2 separate regions of the Homo sapiens genome follow, and region 1 is linked to region 2. Evidence: promoter capture Hi-C in human tissues and cell types (Jung and others, 2019). All regions are on one chromosome and are shown on one strand. Each heading gives the region's core, a stretch centred on a gene start or on the middle of the fragment in contact. The rest is flanking DNA. Distances are from core to core; before and after follow the strand shown. Region 1 overlaps SGPL1 (sphingosine-1-phosphate lyase 1). Region 2 holds the start of SGPL1 (sphingosine-1-phosphate lyase 1).

Region 1 (5,562 bases), core at 3,059-5,558, 59 kb before region 2:
GAATGGCGTGGCCAGCTAGTCACAGTTGTTGGGTCAGTAGTACAGTGCTCAAGAACAATTCAGACTAACATGCCAAGGAGCCTGAGGAAAAGTCTGGTAGTCATGGCTCTCCCAGCCAGCATTCCCAGTGGGGGAAACTAGAAGACACCAGCCTGGAGAGGCTGAATATTCAGGAGTCCCTGAGATGGGGAATGGAACAGAGGAAAGTGTCTTTTGACTCATCTTAAGTACTCCCCTCCCCAAATAGAAACCTCAAAGACTGATCCATTTCCCCTAGGGCCTGGGCCAGGAGTAGCTCACTGCTCACTGCTGAGGAGAAAGGCACAAGATATAATGTCATAAGAGCAGGACAGTGGCTCAGCCTACAGAGTTCCCTATAGGGGAAAGAAGGCAGGAAATAGGCGCAGGGTCTGGTCCTGTCCCTGCACCACCCTGAGCAGCTAGTCTTGGGAAGGGATTACAGGCCCTGGGCCATAGGCTGCTCGCCATTCTGCTTTCCTATCCTGTTTCTCTCCCTGTGCTGCTCCCTTTTAGCCAGGGCTGAGAAATGTTCAGCACCTGAGGCAAAACTGCCATAGTACCTCTGAAAGCTGAATCAAGGGGGAAGAGGCAGAAGAACACACTAATAGAGAAAATTTTCCTTGCTACGGGTGCTCTTTCACACCCACCTAGGGTAAGTCAAGGCAACTTGTGAAGGTGCTTTGAGCTGTTCCTTCAAGCAAACACATTTTCATTACATAATGGCTTAACGCAAGGGTGCAGGGAAGGACCACCACCAACTTTGGTGACATATTTGAATCTGGGTGTTCATCCTACTCTGATATTCAAAAAAGCATAGAAAAAGGTCTGATTTCTGCTCATCACCAGCCCAGGATAGGGTTCAGGTGTGCTCTGACCACTGCCAATTCAGGAAGGCGGCACCATGGCCAAAAGCTCCCAGATTATTTGGAAACCATGTTTTCTTCCTAGTCCATGGTAACAAGAAAAAGCCAATGGAAGCATCATTCCAAACAATAATCTCCAAAGATGGTGGCAACCAAGTGTCAAATGGGGACTGCAGGCACAGAAGAGACCACCCCAAACCCTGCCTGGGTGGACGAAGCAGGTATGCTAGAATAGTCCTGTCCTGCAGAATAGGGAACGGCAGCTTGGTCGATCTGTGCCCTGGAAAAAGAAAATGAGTTGCAATAGAAGTGACTCTAAGACAGACAATGAACCTACTCTTAAGAGAGACAGGGCCAGGCACGGTGGCTCACGCCTGTAATCCCAGCACTTTGGGAGGCTGAGGCGGGGGGGCGGGTATCACCTGAGGTCAGGAGTTCAAGACCAGCCTGGCCAACACGGTGAACCCGTCTCTACTGAAAAAGAAAATTGAAAAATTAGCCAGGCGTGGTGGTGGGTGCCGGTAATCCCAGCTACTCGGGAGGCTGAGGCAGAAGAATCGCTTGAACCCAGTGGGTGGAGGTTGCAGTGAGCTGAGATCATGCCACTGCACTCCAGACTGGGCAAAAGAGCAAAATTCCATCTCAAAAAAAAAAAAAAAAAAAAAAAAGAGAGAGAAGGCTGAAAAAGCCTCCTGCTTAGAGTATACCTCACACCCAGCTGAGGAAACATCTGTTATGTAAACGCCTCCTGCCTGAGATAACAAAGAAGCTCTAGCTATCTCATAAACTGTACCCCAGCTTCTCTAAAGAATCAGGACAGGTCAGAGCTACCACACAATGTTTAAGTAAAGTTGAAAGCTAGAGAGTTTAGAAAAGGAAATGGTTAAAACAATTCCTAGGGTAACATTTATAACAAGGGCAAAATCATTATGTAATGGAATTCTCTGGGGTCTTCAAATTAAAAACCACAAAAGGAAGATAAGAGGAAGAACAAGAATCCTGAGGCTCAAGCTGTCTCATGGTCTATCTTGAGTTGTGCTCTATGGAGCAAGACCAGATGTCAAAGTTGTGCACGGCCTGTTCCATATCCCAAGAACCTTCTGAAGGCTGGAATCCCCTTGAGACTAGAAAGGGTCCAAGTTCAGTGGGGTTTTGGAGAACCATTCATCTGGCTGCCCTGGGTGACAGTGTCGGTGCTGTACAAGCTGTCCAAGAAGACTGAGGACAATTCTGCAACCATATTCCTGTCAACAGTTGTCTGGGCCATGCCATAGATGGCACCCTACAAATCCAAAGAAAGAGACATTATTAGTGAGGCCAGGTCCAAAAGCAAGAATAAAACTGCAGCAATGAGCCCCTTCTCCCCGAGTCCTAGCTTCGCATGTGCACTGCCCTACCCCATTTCCACCTAAGGCATCCCATCATTCTATCAGAAAAACAGCTGGCATAGTCAATTTTTCACAGGGACTTTCCAGTCTGCCTTTCTGCATAAAGGGACTAGCCTAAGAAAATTCCAGAAAAAACATGTTTACTATCTTTCCTGTGACAAAATTTTCTTTTCAAATGGACACTACCACCAGCTGCTTTTATACAGAAGTCTCTAACTTACAAGGTACTTTATAGTGTATCTCATTTGAGACTTCAGCAACCCTAAGGGGTGGGTGATGCAGAGATCATCAGCTCCAGTCAACAAATAAAAGATGTCTGTGGCAAAGGGGCAGAGGCAGGAACAGACTCCGGGTCATATGATTCCTTCAAACTCTCCACCAACACCTAAATTTCCAAGAGAAGAAAAAAAACTCCAAGTGTCCCTACCATTCCTGTGGTCTTCGCTTTAGGATTCTTCATGATTTGAGTGACAGATTCTCGAATGTCCTTTAGGAATTGTATAGCTACTCGTTTCCGGGCGTGTAGTAATGTGATGCAGAAATGAATACTAGGAAAGAAGAGACAGAGAGAGATGAACCTTGAAGAAAGAAAAAATGTTCTAAAATGATGCAGCCCCAAATACGGGAATTTCCTGGTTGCCCTTTCACAATATTTCTGACAAGTGTAGTCATCCAAGTTGTTCCTAGTCCTGGGAATCTCGGCTCTCTCATGCTTGGGGTGTCAGGCATGGGCTGGCCTCAGAGCTTCTCGGCATGACTGAGAACCATGCTAAGAGGATGAACAGTGTTGGCTGCTTTGTCCCACCCATCCCCTCACAAATTCCACCACCATTCCTTCAACCACGTCACCATCAATGAGACACTTTTATCTTAGATAATCAGCCCCCATGTGCTCTCATGGGGACAGGGCCACATGGCTGGGGTCTTAAAGGACTTCAGGGCACAGAAGAAATTCTACCTCGCCCTGGAGGAATTTAGTGGGGTTTACTGGAATTGTGAAGAGGGAAAAAGATAGTCCAGATGGGACTGGCAATGCACCAACGTGTGGAAGGCTAAGCTGTACACAGAGGACATGAACAGACCTGTACTCAGTTGGAGTGGTGCATTTACTCAAAGGCATCATGGAAGATTAGGTTAGAAAAGTCTAATAAAGAAGGCAGTAGCAGGCCTGAATGATTAGAGACCCCCAGGAAGATCTTGAACTAAATATTAGCCAGGTAACAAGTATTTTATAAGAGCAATTTGATGGCTGTGTACAAGATGGATTGGAGAGTAGAAAGGCTAGAGACTGAGAGAAAAACCTCATGACCAACCACTGGTCTAGGAGGCTGTCACCTAATTCTGCCAGAGTTTAAAGCTAATGGTCTTGTTCTTTGTATCTAATAATTCCAGGTGGCAAGAGAGAAATCCTTTATATACTACAGTTGCTACTAACGTGCTAGCCTCTAGCAGTCAAACTCTATACTTCAGGTTACTGTACCACCCAAGTTCTTCCAAAATCATGGAGCAAAATAAGGGAAAGAGGCTTCTTCAAGCTTACCTGGGTGGGAACTGCAACTGGTTCAAGTTCCACCCCTTAGCAGTCATCAGGTTTGATAGTCGGTAGATGTCAAAATCACGGGATCCCAGAGCAATGACTGACAATTGGGGATTCCCAAAAACAAAGATGCCTTTGATATTTTCCAGTCTTAAAACAAAAAAATAAATGAAGGAAGAAAAAGTAAATTCAGTCACATACAATCCCCTGGTCACTATCTCTTTAATCATTCAAAGTCTTCCTTATAATGAATGCAATCTAACCCTTTGGGCTTTAGTCTTCTCATCTTCAAAAAAGAAGAGGGCTACACTGGATCAGTGGTTCTTACTGAGATCAGAATCATAGATGGAACAATAAAAATGGAATTCCAAGGCCCAAACCCCATCTAGATCTAATGACTCAATCACTGACTTCGAACCTGTCTACCCAACTCCCAATTATATTCCCCTAGATGCTTCTGAGGCATGAAAGATGTACTAAAAAAATTTCTGGAAAAGTAATCTGCCCATCTCCACAGTTCTAAAAAGTCATATGTAATCCCTAAAGCAAGAAATGGTATAGCAGGTCTTAATAAATGGCCCTATCAGAGCTATAGGAGGACCTTTTATATATATCTAATTTTTATTTATTTGTTTGCTTATTTATTTGAGACAGGGTCTTGCTCTGTCACCCAGGCTAGAGTGCAGTGGTGTGATCATAGCTCACTGTAACCTCAAATTCCTGGGCTGTTCAAGCAGTCCTCTTGCCTTAAGCCTCCTGTGTAGCTGGGACCAAAGGTGCACACCACCACATGTGGCTAATTTTTATTTTTATTTATTTTTTATTTTTGAGATGGAGTTTCGTTCTTGTTGCCCAGGCTTGAGTGCAATGGTGCCATCTCAACTCACCGCAACCTCTGCCTCCCGGGTTCAAGCAATTCTCCTGCCTCAGCCTCCTGAGTAGCTGGGATTACAGGCATGCGCCACCACGCCCGGCTAATTTTGTATTTTTAGTAGAGACGGGGTTCTCCCTGTTGGTCAGGCTGGTCTTGAACTCTGGACCTCAGGTGATCCACCCGCCTCAGCCTCCCAAAGTGCTGGGATTACAGGGATGAGTCACCGCGCCCGGCCTCATGGCTAATTTTTAAATTTGTTGTAGAGATAATGTCTCACTATGTTGCTCCGGTTGGTCTTTAATTCCTGAGCTGAAGCGATCCTTTTGCCTTGGCCTCCCAAAGTGCTGGGATTACAGGCCGGAGCCACCGTGCCTGGCCAAGGATCTTTCTCAAATGAGAAATGCCTGCAGGCAGCTTTCCTTCCCCCTCAATATACTTAAAGAGCCTCCCCAATCCAAGTGACACATAGAGAGATGGGCAGATAAGATGTTAACAGATACATTAGACAAAGCATGCAGCCTGTTCTGGCCTTGGCTTAACCCAAGATTTCATTGCCCTCCTTTCCTCATTCCTTCTGGCCCATTTCCAATTATTTTCTTATTCCAATGATTCTTCAAGTATGATTCCTGGAGCAGTAGCATCAGTATCTCCAGAAATGGAAATTTTTAGAGCCCATCCCAGTTCCACTGAATCAGAAACTCTAGGGGTGGGCCCAGCTACCTGTGTTTTAACAAGTCCTTCAGGTGATTAGAATGCATGCTCAAGTTTGGGAATCACTGTCCTAACCATTAAATTGTACATTAGCCTTAGGGTAAGAGCTGCCAGTTATTAAGACATCCATAGAGATGAGATAAACTACAAATGAGGCCCCCGTCTCAA
Region 2 (6,149 bases), core at 3,504-6,003:
CGGGTTCAAGCAACTCTCTTGCCTCAGCCTCCTAAATAGCCGGGAATACAAGTGTACGCCACCATGCCCAGCTAATTTTTGTATTTTTAGTAGAGACAGAGTTTCGCCATGTTGACCAGGCTGGTCTAGAACACCTGGCCTCAAGTACTCTGCCCGCCTGAGCCTCCCAAAGTGCTGGAATTACAGGCATGAGCCACCACGCCTGACCCAATAAACAAGATTTAATAATAATTTAATAATAAAACATGTATTTTCAGACTACACTAGAAGAAAAAAGACTCCCTCCTCCCCCAGTCCCCCATTGCCAAAGTGCCCCCTAGAGGGTGGAGCTATCCTATCCCATCTGCTCCACACAGACCCTCTCCCATCAGTCACAATGGTCAGCAACCTCTACCCTTACCAGGGGTAAGGACACAAAGTAGGCAAGAGGGAGGGATCTGAAGTCAGACCAACTGAGGTCAAACTTGGCTCCACCACTCAACTGCTGTAGTTACTCTCTATAAGCCTCGTTTTTCATCTGTAAAAGAAGGATACCAAAAGGTTTTTGTGAAAATTAAATAAGTACAGTATTCCTACACTTAACATGTAATACATGCTCAATAAATGTTAGCTATCAGAGTTAACATTACTATTCCTGAATCCACCTTGTATTGTTTCCTAGCTTTTGCTCACTTATTCCATTAGCAGAAAAGACGGGAGACTGGATATCCATTTACCAGAGATACTCTTCAACAGATTCATGTATAATATAAGCTGCATCACAGGCCAGGTACAGTGGCTCATGCCTGTAATCCAGCACTTTGGGAGGCCAAGGCAGGCGGTTGGATCCCTTGAGCCCAGGAGTTAGATACCAGCCTGGGTAACATGGCAAACTACCATCTCTACAAAAAATAAATACAAAAATCAGCCGGGCATGGTGGCATGTGCCTGTCGTCCCAGCTACTCAGGAGGCTGAGGTGGAAGGATCATCTGAGCCTCAGAGATTGAGGATGCAGTAAGCTGAGATCATGCCACTGCACTCCAGCCTGGGCATCAGAGTGAGACCTTGTCTCAAAAAAAAAAAAAAAAAAAAAGCTGCATCCCATGACTTCTAAGACTATTTCTAATTCTGAGATGCTGCACTGCACTGAGGTTATTTTTTTATTCACTTAGGTCCTTTCTTCCCAGGTGGAGGGCCAAGAACATGTTTTACATATCATATAAAGTAGCTTGAGAAACACCTCATAGAATGATGGGTTAGTGTGCCACTGAAAACCCAGCCATGGTTATTGGTTCTTTACCAGTTAGTTCCAAATAGCATTATACATTACAGTCAAGGAATGAATGACAACTTTTCCAGTGAAAGCACTTCATGCAACATGTATGTTGTCTTCAGAAAGTGATGACTGCCTAGGGCCACTCGCATCTATGTGGATTAATTCCTTACAGCAACAAGCAAAGCAACACTCCTAAACATTCTAAATTAACAGGTGAGGAGGTGAAAGGTGGTGGCAACAGCTAGAGAAATACCTCAAAAGAAAACTGATTCCAAAGTTAATATTCCGAGTAAAAGCAGTCATTGTTCTGTTAAAGTAAATGCATAGGCCCTATAAGTAATAACCATATCTCTGTGCATGGGGAAATATCTTACATATAAGAACCTATAATTTACATAAACATATCCTTCTGTAAGAGGATAAACAGAAACTGTCAATTGCTACAAGTCACTCTGCATTAACCATCCAAGATGCTCACAGCGGTTATTTCTGGGTGATAAATTACTGCACGGGGTAGAGGCGAATGAAGGGGATGTAGGAGATAGGGGAGATTAACAAATCCCCTTTCCTTTTGCTTACTTATAGTTTCCAGTATTTCTAACATAATGGTCTTTGAATAAGAATTTTAAGTTATATAAGGGTATTAATTAAAACTGAAAAATCCATGAAATTTGGGGCAAGATACTATTTTAGATGAACTTTTCATTGGGATCTGCGGATAACCTAAGTATTCATCTATGTCTCTCACATACAACCTAAAATTATCCTAGATCCCTGCCTCAAATCACAATGGATCAAAACTTAGTTTCTCTCTTCTTTAGCCCCCCTGCAGACCTTACAGGTTATGCCACTACGATGTCAGCACCCAGTATAAGGAAATCTCACTACCAGTTTTTGCCAGTTTCCCAGTGACGCCAACCCACCCTCTGGGATAGTGAGATAAAGAGAGAGAAATGAATTGTTTTTAAAGCACTGATTTTGCACTCAGAGAAGTGACAAAAACAAACAAACAAACAAACTTGGCTGGACACGGCGGCTCACGCCTGTAAGTAATCCCAGCACTTTGGGAGACCAAGGCAGGTGGATCACCTGAGGTTAGGAGTTTGAGACCAGCCTGGCTAACACGGCGAAACCCCATCTCTATTAAAAAACAAAAATTACCCAGGCATGGTGGTGTGCACCTATAATCCCAGCTACCCGGGAGGCTGAGGCAGGAGAATCGCTTGAACCCGGGAGGCAAAGGTTGCAATGAGCTGAGATTGTGCCATTGCACTCCAGCCTGGGAGACAAGAGCTAAACTCCATCTCAAAAACAAACAAACAAAACAAAACAAAACGAAACAAAAAAAACTAAACCCGGACACTTTTTCTATACCACCATTTCAAAGCTATAAACTCTCCATAATTCTCACACTAAGAAGTCCATAAGGAATCATAAAAGTCCCAAAAATAAAATGTCATTTTGGTAAACATGCATTTAGCAACGCTATTCTTCCCTGCTCAGTAAAACAGCACAGAAAGATCTCAGGAGGAGAGGAAACAGCTCTAAAGCAGGCATACCTCTCTGTCCAACAAAAGAACTTAAATTCATACTGGTTCAATCCAACAAGCATTTGTTAAGCACATACTATATTCAGAGCACCATGCTAGGTGTTTATTCATCTCTAAACAAAGAAGACATGATTATCTGCCTGTCGAGGAACCATAACTCTAATCTGGAAGACAAACACTCAGATAAACTAGTATATGGCAGACCCTGATAAAACGTAATAATAGAGGTTTCAAAACTGCTCTGGTAGTACGGGAAGGGAGGGATTAAAACTGCAAGAATTATGAAAAAGAAAGCCAGGAGAGGTGACCTGTGCTCCTAGTCCTAGCTACTCCAGAGGCTGAAGCAAGAGGATCACTTGAAGTGGGAGTTCCAGGCTACAGTGAGCTATGATTATGCCTGTAAATAGCCACTGCACTCCGGTCTGAGGAACATAGCAAGACCTTGTCTCATTTAAAAAAAATAATAATAATTTTGAAAAAGATTCTTCAATAATTTAAGTTCTACATATACTGTATTGATGTATTTAATTCAGCTATTTATTCATCCTGATCATTCATCCAAAATAAAAGGTGGTTGGCCAGGCGCGGTGGCTCACGCCTGGAATCCCAGCACTTCGGGAGGCCAAGGCGGGTGGATCACCACAGGTCAGGAGTTCAAGGCCAGCCTGGCCAACATGGAGAACCCCGTCTCTACTAAAAATACAAAAATTAGCCGGGCGTGGTGGCGTGCGCCTGTAATCCCAGCTACTCAGGAGGCTGAGGCAGGAGAATCGCTTGAACCCAGGAGGCAGAGGTGGCGGTGAGCCGAGATCATGCCACTGCACCCCAGTCTGGGCAACAGAGTGAGACTCCGTCTCCAAAAAAACAAAACAAAACAAAACAAAATAAAAGGTGGCAAAACGCTCAGCTACCAAAAGCAAGCATCAGAGGTGAAATCTACACACTGGGATCCTTTGGACTAAAAAAACGGAGACAAATGCCTTGGAACCAGGAGGATGTCTGCAAAAGGCTCACCAACATCAGAAGGTCTGTGCTAGGCATCTTCCTCTTCCAGCCTCCTCTCCGCGCTCCCCTTTTTCAGACTCTGTAAAAGGGAACCAGGTTTGTTTACTTCTAGAGCTTTAAACTGTCTCGCCAGCCCGCCTAGATTCGCCAGAGCAGCCAAGTTATGGTTCTCTCCCTCCTTTGAAGGCTCAGATTTCATTCCCAGATATCACAGTCCACCCCTAGCACCCCAGACCAGCGAATCAAAATCCTGCTGCAACTAGGTTTCCCTCCCACAGCTGATGAAACTAATCCAGACCCAGACTCCCACAAAGCATTCCACCCAGGTGGAAACTAGGGGAAACGCCCCGTCTGCGCGCGATCGGGGTGGGGAGCCCAGCCCAGGCCACCTAACCCGGGCTGAAGGTGCCGAGGCTACCAGGGTCCTGCCTCCTCCGCACTCCCTTCAGAATCAGCACGGCCTCGCTCTCGTTGTCACCCCTCCCGTCGGAGGACCAGCAAATCCTGGCCGCCCATGCCTACCCCGCGGCAGGCGTGGGCTCCAGACCCGCCCCACCGCGGCCCCGCGCCCGCCCGCCGTCCACTTGCTTGGACCTCAGCGGCTGGTGCCCACGCCTTCAGCCCGCCCCCGCCCCCGCCCCGGCCGCAGCCGCCCCGCCGCCTCTGCCCGCCCTCGGCCCACCCGGCCCCTGTCCTCTCCTCACCCCGCGGCGCCTCCGTCCCGACCCTCACCGCCCCCCGGAGCCCGCGGCGGCCCCTCCACCTCCTCACGCCGGAACCAGCTTCCAGTCTCCTTCCCTCGAGCACCCGGCCGGCTCCACCTCCTGCGTCTCCCTCAGCACGCGACGGACTCGCAGGCCGCGAGACCCAGGCTCCCCTGTTGCCGCCGCCGCCGCCGAGATTGGAGGCCCGGCAGCCGCCGGCCTCGCCCCTCCCGGAAATGGCTCCGGGGGCACCGGCCCGGCTCCCGGACCCTGGCGTGCGCGGCCCCGCTGCTACCAGCCGCGCGCACGCCCAGACCCGGGCCCCACGGCCTGTGCGCGCCGCCTACCGGCCAGGCAGCGGGCTGCACCCAGACCCTCCAGTGAATGTCTCAACCAGGCCGTCCTGGGGCGGCTGTGGTATCCCGACGGTCACCAACTTCTCTTCCAAACTGCCTTGGACAAAAAACTTTCTTGTCACATTTGGTCACTTGGAGCCTCCTGAGAGAGTAGGTCTGCAGGGCATTGTACAAACTAATCCAAAACAGCCACAGAGTTGGGTCTCTTTCCTGGGCCAGGGACTTCATTTTTCCATCGAGGTCAGTGGTGCCTGAAGAAAAGCAACAAGGAAACTTATTTAATGGAAATATCATCCTCATCCTCCCCTCCACCACTGCCCCCCCCCACCCCAAAAATAAAATGGAGAGCAGAGGCTACTCTGCCATCACTACTTTCATGAGCAGTGCTGGGAATCACCTTATACACAAGTGCAAGGGCCCACTGGGATCACAAAGGTCGCCTTCATTTCCAGATGAAAAAACTAAGTCTCAGCTGGGTGTAGTGGCTTACATCGGTAATCCCGGCACTTGGGGATGCTGAGGCGGGAGGGTTGTCTGAGCCCAGGAGCTCTAGATCAGCCTGAGCAACATAGTGAGACCCCCAACTCCAAAAAGAAAAAGAAAAAACTAAGTCTCACATAGGTTTCCCATGACTTGTCCAGGTTGTCATAACATTGCTTTAGTGGTAGCAGAAGGCAGTGCAGTTACATGGAACCAACTGGTCAGTGACCTGCATTCAAGATTTTTTTTCAATAGATTTTAAAATGACACCTAGATAGACTCTTGAAATCTCTCAAACAAAAATGACACTAATGAGGGTACCCAATTCCATCCCCTTGGAAAATGTTGCCATGACACTAAAATTAGGGCATCATCACTACCGTCATTATCCACATGTAGTGCTTTCAGGATGAAATGTACTATCACAGCTGCCCTCCTCTGCATACCCCATCGGCACTTCCCACTTCCCCAGCCATAATGGTTAAGGCCCTGAAAGACTATGAACAGGTTATCTTTAGGCCTCCTCACCCCCATTCCGTCAGAACTCCCAGACATTTCTACCATCCAGAGCCCCTGACTCAGGCATGAACACCCCCATACCCTTAGCCCCCTCACTACTATTCCCCAGCAGACATGCATTCTCAGTGTTTGAGGGTCAGAAAATGTTCTGGGGCCTCCTGCCAATGCCTACTCATCAAGAGTTGCTTTAGGGTTTCAGGTATGCCTTCCCATTCTCCATCTCCTACCCTTCTGCTTTAATTCTTCATCAGATCCCCCAGGAACTGCACACCTCCTCTC

What was found. Contacts are between HindIII fragments. The study calls those that stand out against the background at their distance.
Region 1: a contact is called between a fragment that was not itself captured here and the fragment with the promoter of SGPL1 in region 2, in 1 of the 25 tissues and cell types used here (bladder).

The regions. Positions count from the first base shown.
Region 1 is chr10:70,873,799-70,879,360 of GRCh38, reverse strand. It overlaps SGPL1 (sphingosine-1-phosphate lyase 1), which reads right to left. Exons shown (of 15, transcript NM_003901.4): 13 at 3,813-3,959; 14 at 2,700-2,820; 15 at 1-2,166. The coding sequence ends at 2,026. Among named protein-coding and RNA genes, the nearest start is that of PCBD1, 12 kb to the left of the region's middle. The HindIII fragment of the contact is 9,714 bases long and covers 1-5,562 here.
Region 2 is chr10:70,814,552-70,820,700 of GRCh38, reverse strand. It overlaps SGPL1 (sphingosine-1-phosphate lyase 1), which reads right to left and starts at 4,753. Exons shown (of 15, transcript NM_003901.4): 1 at 4,575-4,753; 2 at 3,821-3,890. The coding sequence starts at 3,847. RefSeq lists silencers at 4,338-4,447, 4,528-4,617, 4,638-4,957. The HindIII fragment of the contact is 13,423 bases long and covers 1-6,149 here.